Regions from separate parts of the Homo sapiens genome. Here regions 1, 2 and 3 are each linked to region 4. Evidence: promoter capture Hi-C in 16 types of primary human blood cells and fetal thymus (Javierre and others, 2016). All regions are on one chromosome and are shown on one strand. Each heading gives the region's core, a stretch centred on a gene start or on the middle of the fragment in contact. The rest is flanking DNA. Distances are from core to core; before and after follow the strand shown. Region 1 holds the start of NASP (nuclear autoantigenic sperm protein). Region 2 has its middle 9.0 kb from the start of LINC01144. Region 3 has its middle 10 kb from the start of LINC01144. Region 4 holds the start of KIF2C (kinesin family member 2C).

Region 1 (2,737 bases), core at 112-2,611, 840 kb before region 4:
AATCTCTAACTATAAACAAACAAAGACATAATCATGACAGAGTGTAAGCCTATAGAATATCAATTTAAAAAACTTCACAGCAACCATTCCTTTTACAGGGAAGGCAACTAACCTCTAAAGCGCACAAGATTAGAAAAAAAAATAGAACCAGATGCCTAAAAAAATATGGCAAGATTGGGAAATCAGACCTACTGTATGGGAAACAGCACTTGTTTCCTTGAACTCGTGTAGTGTTTCCCTCCACTGTTCAAAAAACAGATTACGCCTGAGTGGCACTGTGCCGCTTTCAAAACAATCCTATCTTGTTTCCCTCCAGTCCTTCTCCACTTCGTGCATACTACTGCCGATTCACCTAGCAACCAAACAGTGCTGGTGAGAGCTCCAGACAGCGCTTCCTGAAGACGCTTTACGTCCGGTAATGTTCCCCCCAAACAGACACCACCTCCAAAGTCTAAAGAACGACAATCCTCCCCACCACAGGCAGGGGCTCACGGAGTCGCGGGGAGCGATAACTATCTCCCAGCACAAGACGTGAGCGAGGTGTCGGGGGGAACTAGCCTCGCCGGCCCCACGGAGATAGTCCAAAGCTCCTGCTGGAGCCGCAGCGGCCCCAAACAATGGAGTTTTCCCGCCTCCTCAAGGCCCCGCCCCCTGCCCCAGGGCCGGCGAGGGAAGCGAACGCACGCGCGCAAAACCCCGCCCTCAGCAAGGCCCCGCCCACCCCGACCCCTCAGGTCCAGCCTCCTTCCTCGTGCAAGGTTTTTTTTCCCTTTTGGCGCCAAATCTTCGTTGGTTATATTCCCGGGTTATCCAGGGGTTCTACCAGAGGCACACGCTGGGGACAGAAGGGGCGTGAAGGCCAACCCGCGCGCCAGGGCCCCGCCTCCCGGCCAACCGCCCCGGGCTGGGGGAGGAAGGAGAGGGGCAGGCGAAGGATACAGCCGCCGCTGCCCCCGGCAAGATGGCGGCCGCGAAAAGCGGGGCAGGGGGCGCCAGCCGACCGCCGTTACCGCTGCTGCGCGAGGCTCTCAGCAAAAGAAGGACTGCTCCAGTGACCAGGCCTTCCCGAACAGCGACAGCTGCTCTTGGGAAGGCAAGTACTCCCGCCCACCGGTCTGCCCCTTCTCCGGAGCCCCCGTCCATTAGCCCTCCCCGCGGACTGGCCAGTGCCTTAAGCTTTCCACAGTCCCGCTTACTTGTCGGCAGAAACCAGCTCCGCGGCGACGGCGGCAGTGGCTGTGGACTCCATGGCCATCGTTCCCCTGAGGTGGCGAACCAGCGAACGGAATAGAGCCTGCGAGAAAAACAGGCAATTTGGGACGCCAGAGACTCACTCAGGGACAGAAAATGGCAGATTAGAGACCCCGCGCGGCCGGGGCCCTTTTATATACGAGGACCCTTCGCCCCGCCCATCCACTTCCGGATCCTCCCCCTCGGGTTTAAAGGGCCAGGACTCACCACCCATACCCTCCGTCCCCCGCCGGCCTACCACTATCTAGACACCTCCTGCCCTCTCCATATGGCTCCGCGGGATTGTTTCCCTCCCTAGCCCGACTTCTCCAATAAACAGCAACTTCCTGCTTCTCCAGCAAGTCGCATAAGAAGAACTGGAATCTTGACACTACAACTCCTGACAGGACGCCCCTGCGGCATCCAGAGACAGGGAAGCCAGTGCTGCTCTGCATGTTCAGGGCGAGTAGCTGAGAGTCTCCTTCCGGCCTGGATACTGAGGAAGGTGACTTAGACTTTCTCTCCGTCCTCTGAGTCGTAACGGACGGACACGCAAGGGCCGAGGACGGGTACAAGCAGCAGCGACTAGAACTGATCTGGGTGAGATCTAGGCCTCAGCAACAACTGACGCAAAAAGATTTTGTTCTAGGATTGGCTACAGCTGAAACTACCGCGCTTGATTCAAAGCTCGGGGCTTGCAGCGGGAGGCAGCTGGCTCCTCCCTCTGAACCCGCCCCCTTTGGCTGGCCCAATCCGCTGATCCCATCCTCTTAGGCCCTGCCCAGACTCCAAATCTACCAGAATTAATGCTCCCAGCGCTGTTTGTCCACTCCTGCCTATGATTTGCTGTGTGACTACTACTCGTGGGGGTACCGTGATTAGACGCTTTAAAGCTATTAGCTATCTTGTTTAATATTAACAATGCTACTAGTGAGATCAGTGTTAGTCTGTTTCTTAGAAAAATAAACCAAGGGGCCGGACGCGGTGGCTCACGCCTGTAATCCCAGCACTTTGGGAGGCCTAGGCTGGTGGATCACGAGGTCAGGAGTTCAAGACCAGCCTGGCCAAGATGGTGAGACCCCCCCGTCTCTACTAAAAAATACAAAAATTAGCCGGGCGTGGTGGCGGGCGCCTGTAATCCCAGCTACTCGGGAGGCTGAGGTAGGAGAATACTAGAACCCGGAAGGCAGAGGTTGCAGTGAGCCGAGAGCTCGCCACTGCACTCCAGCCTGGGCAACAGAGCGAAACTCCGTCTCAAAAATAAATAAATAAATAGGCCAAGGTTCCAACCTGGCCAACATGGTGAAACCCCGTCTCTACTAAAAATACGAAAATTAGCCAGGTGTGGTGGCAGGCTCCTGTAATCCCAGCTACTCGGGAGGCTAAGGCAGGAGAATCACTTGAACCCGGGAGGCAAAGGTTGCAGTGAGCCGAGATCTCGCCACTGCACTGCAGCCTGGGCAACAGAGCGAGACTCCGTCTCAAAAAAAAAAAAAAGGGGAAGCTG
Region 2 (2,718 bases), core at 173-2,672, 570 kb before region 4:
GTATTTTCAAATAAAATATATATTGTAGGAAAACATTCTTGCTAAAAAAAAGTGAATTCACCTTTAAAAAAGGTGAATCATTTTTGTCTACTTCAAAGATTATTTATGTATGAAACAAGATAGGAAGTTATAAAAACAAAGAGGTTTGGCCAGGCACAGTGGCTCACATCTGTAATCCCAGCACTTTGGGAGGCCGAGGCGGGTGGATCACCTGAGGTCAGGAGTTCAAGACCAGCCTGGCCAACATGGTGAAACCCTGTCTCTACTAAAATACAAAAATTAGCTGGACATGATGGTGGGTGCCTGTAATCACCGCCACTCGGGAGGCTGAGATGGGAGAATCGCTTGAATCCAGGAGATGGTGGTTGCAGTGAGCCAAGATCATGCCACTGCACTCCAGCCTGGGTGGCTGAGTGAGACATTGTCTCAAAATAAATAAATAAATAAATAGGCCGGGCCTGGTGGCTCACGCCTGTAATCCCAAAACTTTGGGAGGCCGAGGCGGGCAGATCACGAGGTCAGGAGATCGAGACCATCCTGGCGAACACGGTGAAACCCCGTCTCTACTAAAAATACAAAAAATTAGCAGGGCGTGGTGGTGGGCGCCTGTAGTCCCAGCTACTCGGGAGGCTGAGGCAGGAGAATGACGTGAACCTGGGAGGCGGAGCTTGCAGTGAGCTGAGATAGCGCCACTGCACTGGGGCCTGGGCGAAAAGAGCGAGACTGCGTCTCAAAAAAAAAATAAGGCCAGGTGGCCAGGTGCAGTGGCTCATGCCTGTAATCCTAGCACTTAGGGAGGCCGAGGTGGGTGGATTACCTGAAGTCAGGAGTTCAAGACCAGCCTGACCAACAAGGTGAAACCCCATCTCTACTAAAAATACAAAAATTAGCCAGGCATGGTGGCGCGCACCTGTAATCCCAGCTACTTCGGAGGCTGAGGCAGGAGAATCACTTGAACCCAGGAGGAGGAGGCTGCAGTGAACCAAGATGGCACCATTGCACTCCAGCCTGGGCAACAGAGTGGGACTCCATCTCAAAAATAAATAAATTAATTAATTAATTAAAATAAAAACCCTAAATAAATAGGTTGTTTTTTTTTTGCCAGGCAGCTTAGGGAGAAGTAATTTCATATGAGAAAGAGAAATTTCATATGAGAAAATGACTAGTTGTTTAAGAAGGAGGGATGTTCAGGACAAACCAGAAACTCCAAGCATATCATGAACAGTCTGAAATTTAAGTTGTCTGGCTTCAGTTCATAGGGCTTTAAGAAAGCACAGCTTAGTTTTCAGTGACTCCAAATTAGGAAAAATGGGGGAAAAAAAGGAGAAAAAAATAAAAACATCATTTTGAAGACTTGTAGCCAAGAAAATATTAGAATTCGGTCCAGACTGTAGAAAATAATGAAAATTGGGCTGGGCACACTGGCTCACACCTGTAATCCCAGCACTTTGGGAGGCTAAGGCAGGCGGATCACCTGAGGTCAGGAGTTGGAGACCAGCCTGACCAACATGGAGAAACCCCATCTCTACTAAAAATACAAGATTAGCTGGGTGTGGTGGCACATACCTATAATCCCAGCTACTCAGGAGGCTGAGGCAGGAGAATCACTTGAACCCAGGAGGCAGAGGTTGCAGTGAGCTGAGATCACACCATTATACCCCATCATGGTCAACAAGAGCAAAACTCCATCTCAAAAAAAAGCAAAAAGAAAATAAAAATTGAAAAAACATTAGGCAAGACTAGAATCTAACAGCAGGTGTACTGTAGCTCCAAAACATAATTTTTCTCTCTCCAGGTTCCCATTTTTACTAAAGACAAATCATCGTAGGACTGGCTTGCTTTATTATACTTGTCATAATCATTTGTATAAAGTGCAGCAAGAATAATTTTTTTTACATAAACTTTTATTTATTTATTTAATTTTATTTTTTGAGATGGAGTTTTGCTCCTGTTGCCAAGGCTGGAGTATAATGGCATTATCTCGGCTCACTGCAACTTCAGCCTCCCAGGTTCAAGCAATTCTCCTCCCTCAGCCTCCTGAGTAGCTGGGATTACAGAACGCCACCAACACGCCCAGCTAATTTTTTGTATTTTTAGTAGAGATGGGGTTTTACCATGTTGGCCAGGCTGGTCTTGAACTCCTGACCTCAGGTGATCCACCCACCTCAGCCTCCCAAAGTGCTGGGATTACAGGTGTGACCCACCGTGTCCACCATACATAGGCTTTTAAATTGGCTTTGATGGAACTTCATTACATAAGAGGAATCTCAGAAAAGACTTTTTAAAAGTCGAGCCCAGCCATGGATTTGTGCCATGAAATATCTGTGAGTTGGGTGAATTTCCTCTCCTCTTGAGGTTCCAAGATAAACCTGGGGCTTCTGGGCCTGTCAGAATGTGACGTTATTTACTTACCACACATCAGAAACCCTGCATAGGGACTGTATACACAAAATATGATGCCAGTTTTCCCAAGGGCTTTATTGGCTCCGTAAGTCAGGTTTGATTTCTCAAAGGAAAGCACACTATTCCAGTCAAAGCCTTGGTTAAATAACCAGTTTCTCCAATTGTGTCCTGTTACAAATGAAAACGGATTCTTTTTTTGTTTTTTTAGATGGAGTCTCACTCTGTCTCCCAGGCTGGAGTGCAATGGCATGATCTCATTTGATTTCAACCTCTGCCTCCTGGGTTCAAGCGATTCTCCTGCCTCAGCCTTCCAAG
Region 3 (2,700 bases), core at 122-2,621, 550 kb before region 4:
ACTCTATCTCAAAAACAAACAAACAAACAAACCAAAAAACTTTTGACTTAAAAGTTTGTTTTTTCTTCTGATTTAAAGGGAATTGTATTAGGGTGCTCTTGCACTGCTAGAAATTCCTCCAGCCTGGGCAACATGGAGAAACCTCATCTCTACCAAAAATTACAGAAAAATAAAAAATTAGCCAGTTGTGGTGGTGTGTGCCTGTAGTCTCAGCTGCTGGGGAGGCTGAGATGGGAAGATTTCTTGAACCCAGGAGGCGGAGGTTGCAGTGAGCTGAGATTGTTCCACTGCACTCCAGCCTGAGTGACAGAGCAAAATCCTGTCTCAAAAAAAAAAAAAAAAAAAAGAAAGAAAGAAAGAAAAAGAAATACCTGAGACTGGGTGATTTGTAAGAAAGGAGTTTTGGCTGGGCATGGTGGCTCATGCCTGTAATCCTAGTACTTTGGGAGGCTGAGGCAAGAGGATCACTTGAGCCCAGGAGTTTGAGACCAGCCTGGGCAACATGGCAAGATCCCATCTCAATTATTTAAAAAAATGAAAAAGAAAAACAAAGAAAAGAGGTTGAATAGGCTCATGGTTCTGCAGGCTGTACAGGAAGCATAGTGGTATCTACTTCTGGGGAGGCCTCGGGAAGCTTCCAATCATGGTGGAAGGTGAAGGGAGAGCAGGCCCATCACATGGTGAAAGCAGGAGCAAGAAGGCGGGGTGGGGCGGGGGAGGTGCCACACACTTTTAAATGACCAGATCTTGCAAGAACTCACTCACTATTGTGAAGACAGCACCAAGAGGATGGTGCCAAACCATTCATGAGAAGTTCACCCCCATGATCCAATCACCTGCCACCAGGTCCCACCTCTAACACTGGGTATTACAATTTGACATGAGATTTGGGTGGGGACAAACATCCAAACCATATCAGGAATTAAAGCATTTTTGTCAGCCCTAAAAGTCCTGGGGCACTCATGTCTCTACTGTGCTTAGCGGATGGGCTGGTCCTGGTTACAGCTCCCAAATATGTACTCAGGCCCACACCTCTGTTTTGACCTTCGAGCTCCCATGTCCAGCTGTCTTTTGGATAGTTCCCCTTTGGTGTCTTACTCAAATCCAACATGTCTCAAGCTGAACACAGTTTCCCCCAAATCTTTTCTTTGCCCAGCATCCCCTATCTGAGTGAAACATGTACCACCCAGCTAGTTGCACCAGCCAGAAACCTGGACCTCAACCTCTCCCTCACCCTGTAGCCGTGTCCAGTCACCAAGTGCTGCCAATTTTCTCTCTTACATGGCTCTTGAAAGCATCCACTTCTTTCCATTTTCACTTCTGTCTCTACTGCTGTTGTCCTAATCCGCGTTACCAGCGTCTCTTGCTTGGATTACCACCGTCTCTTGCTGGGATTACCACCATGGACACTAATGGTCTCCCTGCCTTTCACTTGCCCTGCAATCATTTATCTACACTGTCCCAGAAGAATCTTTTCCAACTGCTTAAAACCCACTGATGACTTTACTTCATTATTTCTCTGTTTAAATCCAGCTGATGGCTTCCTGTTGCTCTTATAACAGAGATCCAAAACTTCAAGGAGGTCTCCAAGGCCTTGTCTAGCCTGGCCTCTGCCCCTCTTGCTCTGCTCTCTTACCCAGCTTCAGCTACATGATCTTCTCTCAAACACACAGGCTCCCTCCTGGCACAGGACCTTTGCACATGATACTCATCTTAGTCCGTTTGAGCTGCTATAAGAAAATACCATAGACTGGGTAGCTTATAGAACAAAAGAGCTTTATTTCTTACAGTTCTAGAGGCTGGGAACTCCAATATCAGGGTGCTGGCAAATTTGGTGTCTGGTGAGGGCCCTCTTCCTGTTCACAGATGGCGCCTTCTTCCTGTGTCCTCACATGCTGGGAGGGCACACAAGCTCCCTTGAGCTTCTTTAATATGAGCACTAATCCCATTCATGAGGAACCCTCATGATCTAATCTCTCCCAAAGCCTCCACCCCCCAATACCTTTCACCTTGGCAGTTAAAATTTTAACATATGAAACTTAAGGGACACAAACATTCAGACCATAGCAATATTCTTCTATTTTCTACTCCTTCAGCTCAAAGCTTCTCAAGGAAGCTTTCTCTAGTCTAGGTCAAGTATCATTAACTATGTGGCATTAGGCAAGTTTCTTTTATTTATTTATGTATTTAATGAGACAGGGGCCTTCCTCTGTCGCTTAGGCTGGAGCGCAATGATGCGATTGTGACTCACTTCAGCCTTGAACTCCTGGGCTTAAGTGATGCTCCTGCCTTGGCCTCCCAAGGTGTTGGGAATACAGGTGTGAGCCGCTGTGCCTGGCATAGGGAAGTTTCTTTACTGTGTGGTGCCTTCGTTTTCTCATCTGTAAAATGAAGATATAATAATGCCTAACTCACAGGTTTGTTGTGAGGATTAAATAGAATGTCACATGGGAACTGCTGTGAGGGTAGCTGGTGCAGTGCCTGCTTGCCTAGTTGTCCTGGCCCCTGGCTAGCTCTCTAGAGGGGGAAAGTGGTGGAGAGATCCCTCCCAATTAACACTAGCTGGAGATGTTGGGCTGATACAGGTTCTAAAATGTGAGGATTTCAGGGAAGAGCATCTCTACAAGGGCACAGAAGATTTCTGAGTTACCTGAGTGAAAGCAAAGAGCTAATTGTGCCAGAGAGTCATTGACAATGCCT
Region 4 (2,700 bases), core at 101-2,600:
GGTCTCGAACTCCTGACATCAGGTGATCTGCCCGTCTCAGCCTCCCAAAGTTCTGGGATTACAGGCGTGAGTGAGAAGAGCACAGCATCAGAAACTAGGCTCTCACAGATTCCACTTCTGCACAGATCCTTTATGTAGGAAGACATTAAATGTGGTAGAGGAATTCTCATAGAACCTACCTCTTTGCCCTTTGTGGCACCTCCTTCTGCCCATTCCACTGAAACACAGGATTTCTCCAAGTTCACAGTCCTTACATTGGCACTGTGAATTAAACCTATAAAGTATGAAAAAACCAGAGTTACCCATCTCTTTCCTGAGAGCTTCACTTTTAGGATTCCACAGAGATTCCCAAAGTGGAGTTAACCTGAAGGAACAGGCAGCTACCTTAAAAAAAAAAAAAAAAAAAACTAAGAGAAACAAATAAATCTCCTGGGCTTCACCTTTAGAATATCCACAGTGAGGTGGGCTGGGGACAGGTTTTTAAACTGAGCTGCATGGGATAAGGATTCACCCCTACTCAAGAGAGCCTACAAAAAAAGAGAGATAGAGCCTACAAAAGAGAACATACAAAAGGTATGTTTGAGCACAGGATTCCCCACAACCCTTAGATGAACTTTTCCTCAACATAGCATTGAGGATCTGGCCCTTTTGGGGTTTTCCTAACTCATTTCTGGCGGTCATATCTGTCCATTTCCCTAATGACACGGGTATCAGACCTGCCAGAACTGCGGTACCTGCTTAAGCAAAAGAGAGAACGACTACAAGCTCCTCAAGCGCAGGGTTCTTGTCTGTCCCGTTTACCTGACATACCGCAACTGCGCAATATTTATTCGAGAGTAAAGGGGCCAGGAGACCGAGGTCCCCATAAGAGCAGGGCATTTTCAGGGGAGAATTTTGGAAGGGAAGTGAATTTAGAAGTCCCAACTTCCCTGGGAGGTCTACCAGCCTTGGAGAAGGTCCGCCCACTCCCAGAGGACTGCGAAAGGGACCACGTACAGCGCAGGGACTCTCACCCCTGTGTAGGCAAGAATGACTGCCAGTGCAGAGACCCGGAGTGAGTGCGTGTGAAAAGGAGGGAGGGAGAGAAAGAGAGTGAAAGCCCATCTGTGTGTCCGGGGACGGGCAGTAATTTCAGTCGTCTCACCGCTCACGAGTCCCCTTGACCTAGGGACCCCGCTCCTCACCATTACTGCGTTGGATCTTGATAGCGAGACCGGGAAACAGGCGGGCCTGAAGCGACGAGTCCATGGCCATTCGGAGAGTCAGCAAGGAAGAGAAACGCGCAATACCAAGAAACCTCAATTTCGCTAACCCTACGAAGTCTTAACGCCGCGTAAACCGCCGCAGTTTAAATCCCGCGCGCAAGCGTCCTTAAAACGTCATTCCGCTGTCCCCGCCCTCGCTTCCGCCAGTCAGCGGCGCCCTGCGGAGCCTTGGGGGAGACGCAGTTCCCAACCATCTTCCTACGCTTGGCACCGCCCATGCGTCTGGCCACACCCCCGAGCGCTGTGCCTTCTGGGAACTTCGCCGCTACGTGGGGTCTGGGGCTCCCATTTCTGGTATTGTCCTCGGTCACCTTGTACTGCGGGGTTCCCGAAAACTGGGAAACTTCAGTATGTATTTGACAATGAGGGCTCTGGGATCCTACAGACATGGGTTCGAATCGTAGCTTCTTCAATTGCAAGTTCAGTGACCTCGAGCAAGTTGGAGACTTGGCCGGGCGCGGTGGCTCACTCCTGTTAATCCCAACACTTAGGAAGGGAGAGGTGGGAGTGATCGCTCGAGATCAGAAGTTCGAGACCAGACAGGGCAACATAGCCAAGACCCTGTTCTCAAAGCAAAACAAAACCACAGATTAGAAACTTGACTTAGTTTTTCTTATTAAATAGTGCAGAAGCATGTTGCCTCATTCAAGGAGTTATGTATAAATTTCCAGAAAGACACTGATTCACCAGATATTTATTGAGTGAAGTCTACCACCTGCTAGGCATGGTACCAGGAAATGGAGATAATGAACTAGACACATAGTTCCTGTCCTCCTTTTTTTTTTTTTCCATTTAACCCTTAGTGGACACAGCACATGTTTCAGAGAGCACGGGGTTGGGGGTAAGGTTATAGATTAACAGCATCCCAAGGCAAAAGAATTTTTCTTAGTACAGAACAAAATGGAGTCTCCTATGTCTACTTCTTTCTACACAGACACAGTAACAATCTGATCTCTCTTTCTTTTCCCCACATTTCCCCCTTTTCTATTCGACAAAACCGCCATCGTCATCATGGCCCGTTCTCAATGAGCTATTGGGTACACCTCCCAGATGGGGTGGCGGCGGGGCAGAGGGGCTCCTCACTTCCCAAATGGGGCAGCCGGGCAGAGGCGCCCCCCCCCCCCACCTCCCAGACAGGGCGGCGGCTGGGAGGGGGCTGCCCCCCACCTCCCAGACGGGGCGGCTGGCCGGTCGGGGGCTTTCCCCCCACCTCCTGGACGGGGCGGCTGCCGGGAGGAGACGCTCCTCATCTCCCGGACGGGGCGGCTGCCGGGCAGAGTGGCTCCTCACTTCTCAGACGGGGCGGCCAGTCAGAGACGATCCTCACCTCCCAGACAGGGTGGCGGCGGGGCAGAGACACTCCTCAGTTCCCAGACGGGGTCGCGGCGGGGCAGAGGCGCTCCCCACATCCCAGACGATGGGCGGCCGGGAAGAG

What was found. Contacts are between HindIII fragments. The CHiCAGO score rates a contact against its expected background, and 5 or more counts as called.
Region 1: a contact is called between the fragment with the promoter of NASP here and the fragment with the promoter of KIF2C in region 4, in 7 of 17 cell types (non-activated CD4 T cells, naive CD8 T cells, neutrophils and 4 more). The highest score is 11.0, in non-activated CD4 T cells.
Region 2: a contact is called between a fragment that was not itself captured here and the fragment with the promoter of KIF2C in region 4, in 1 of 17 cell types (naive CD8 T cells). The highest score is 5.2, in naive CD8 T cells.
Region 3: a contact is called between a fragment that was not itself captured here and the fragment with the promoter of KIF2C in region 4, in 5 of 17 cell types (total B cells, activated CD4 T cells, naive B cells and 2 more). The highest score is 8.0, in total B cells.

What each region holds. Positions count from the first base shown.
Region 1 is chr1:45,582,665-45,585,401 of GRCh38, reverse strand. It overlaps NASP (nuclear autoantigenic sperm protein), which reads right to left and starts at 1,361. Exons shown (of 15, transcript NM_002482.4): 1 at 1,197-1,361. The coding sequence starts at 1,255. RefSeq lists silencers at 666-965, 1,876-1,935 and enhancers at 1,466-1,775, 2,226-2,285, 2,696-2,737. The HindIII fragment of the contact is 9,802 bases long and covers 1,179-2,737 here.
Region 2 is chr1:45,311,573-45,314,290 of GRCh38, reverse strand. No RefSeq gene overlaps it. Among named protein-coding and RNA genes, the nearest start is that of LINC01144, 9.0 kb to the right of the region's middle. The HindIII fragment of the contact is 4,516 bases long and covers 1-2,718 here.
Region 3 is chr1:45,292,315-45,295,014 of GRCh38, reverse strand. No RefSeq gene overlaps it. Among named protein-coding and RNA genes, the nearest start is that of LINC01144, 10 kb to the left of the region's middle. The HindIII fragment of the contact is 1,469 bases long and covers 637-2,105 here.
Region 4 is chr1:44,738,487-44,741,186 of GRCh38, reverse strand. KIF2C (kinesin family member 2C) reads right to left here and starts at 1,350. Exons shown (of 21, transcript NM_006845.4): 1 at 1,185-1,350; 2 at 180-274. The coding sequence starts at 1,254. RefSeq lists an enhancer at 1,530-1,699. The HindIII fragment of the contact is 10,096 bases long and covers 1-2,700 here.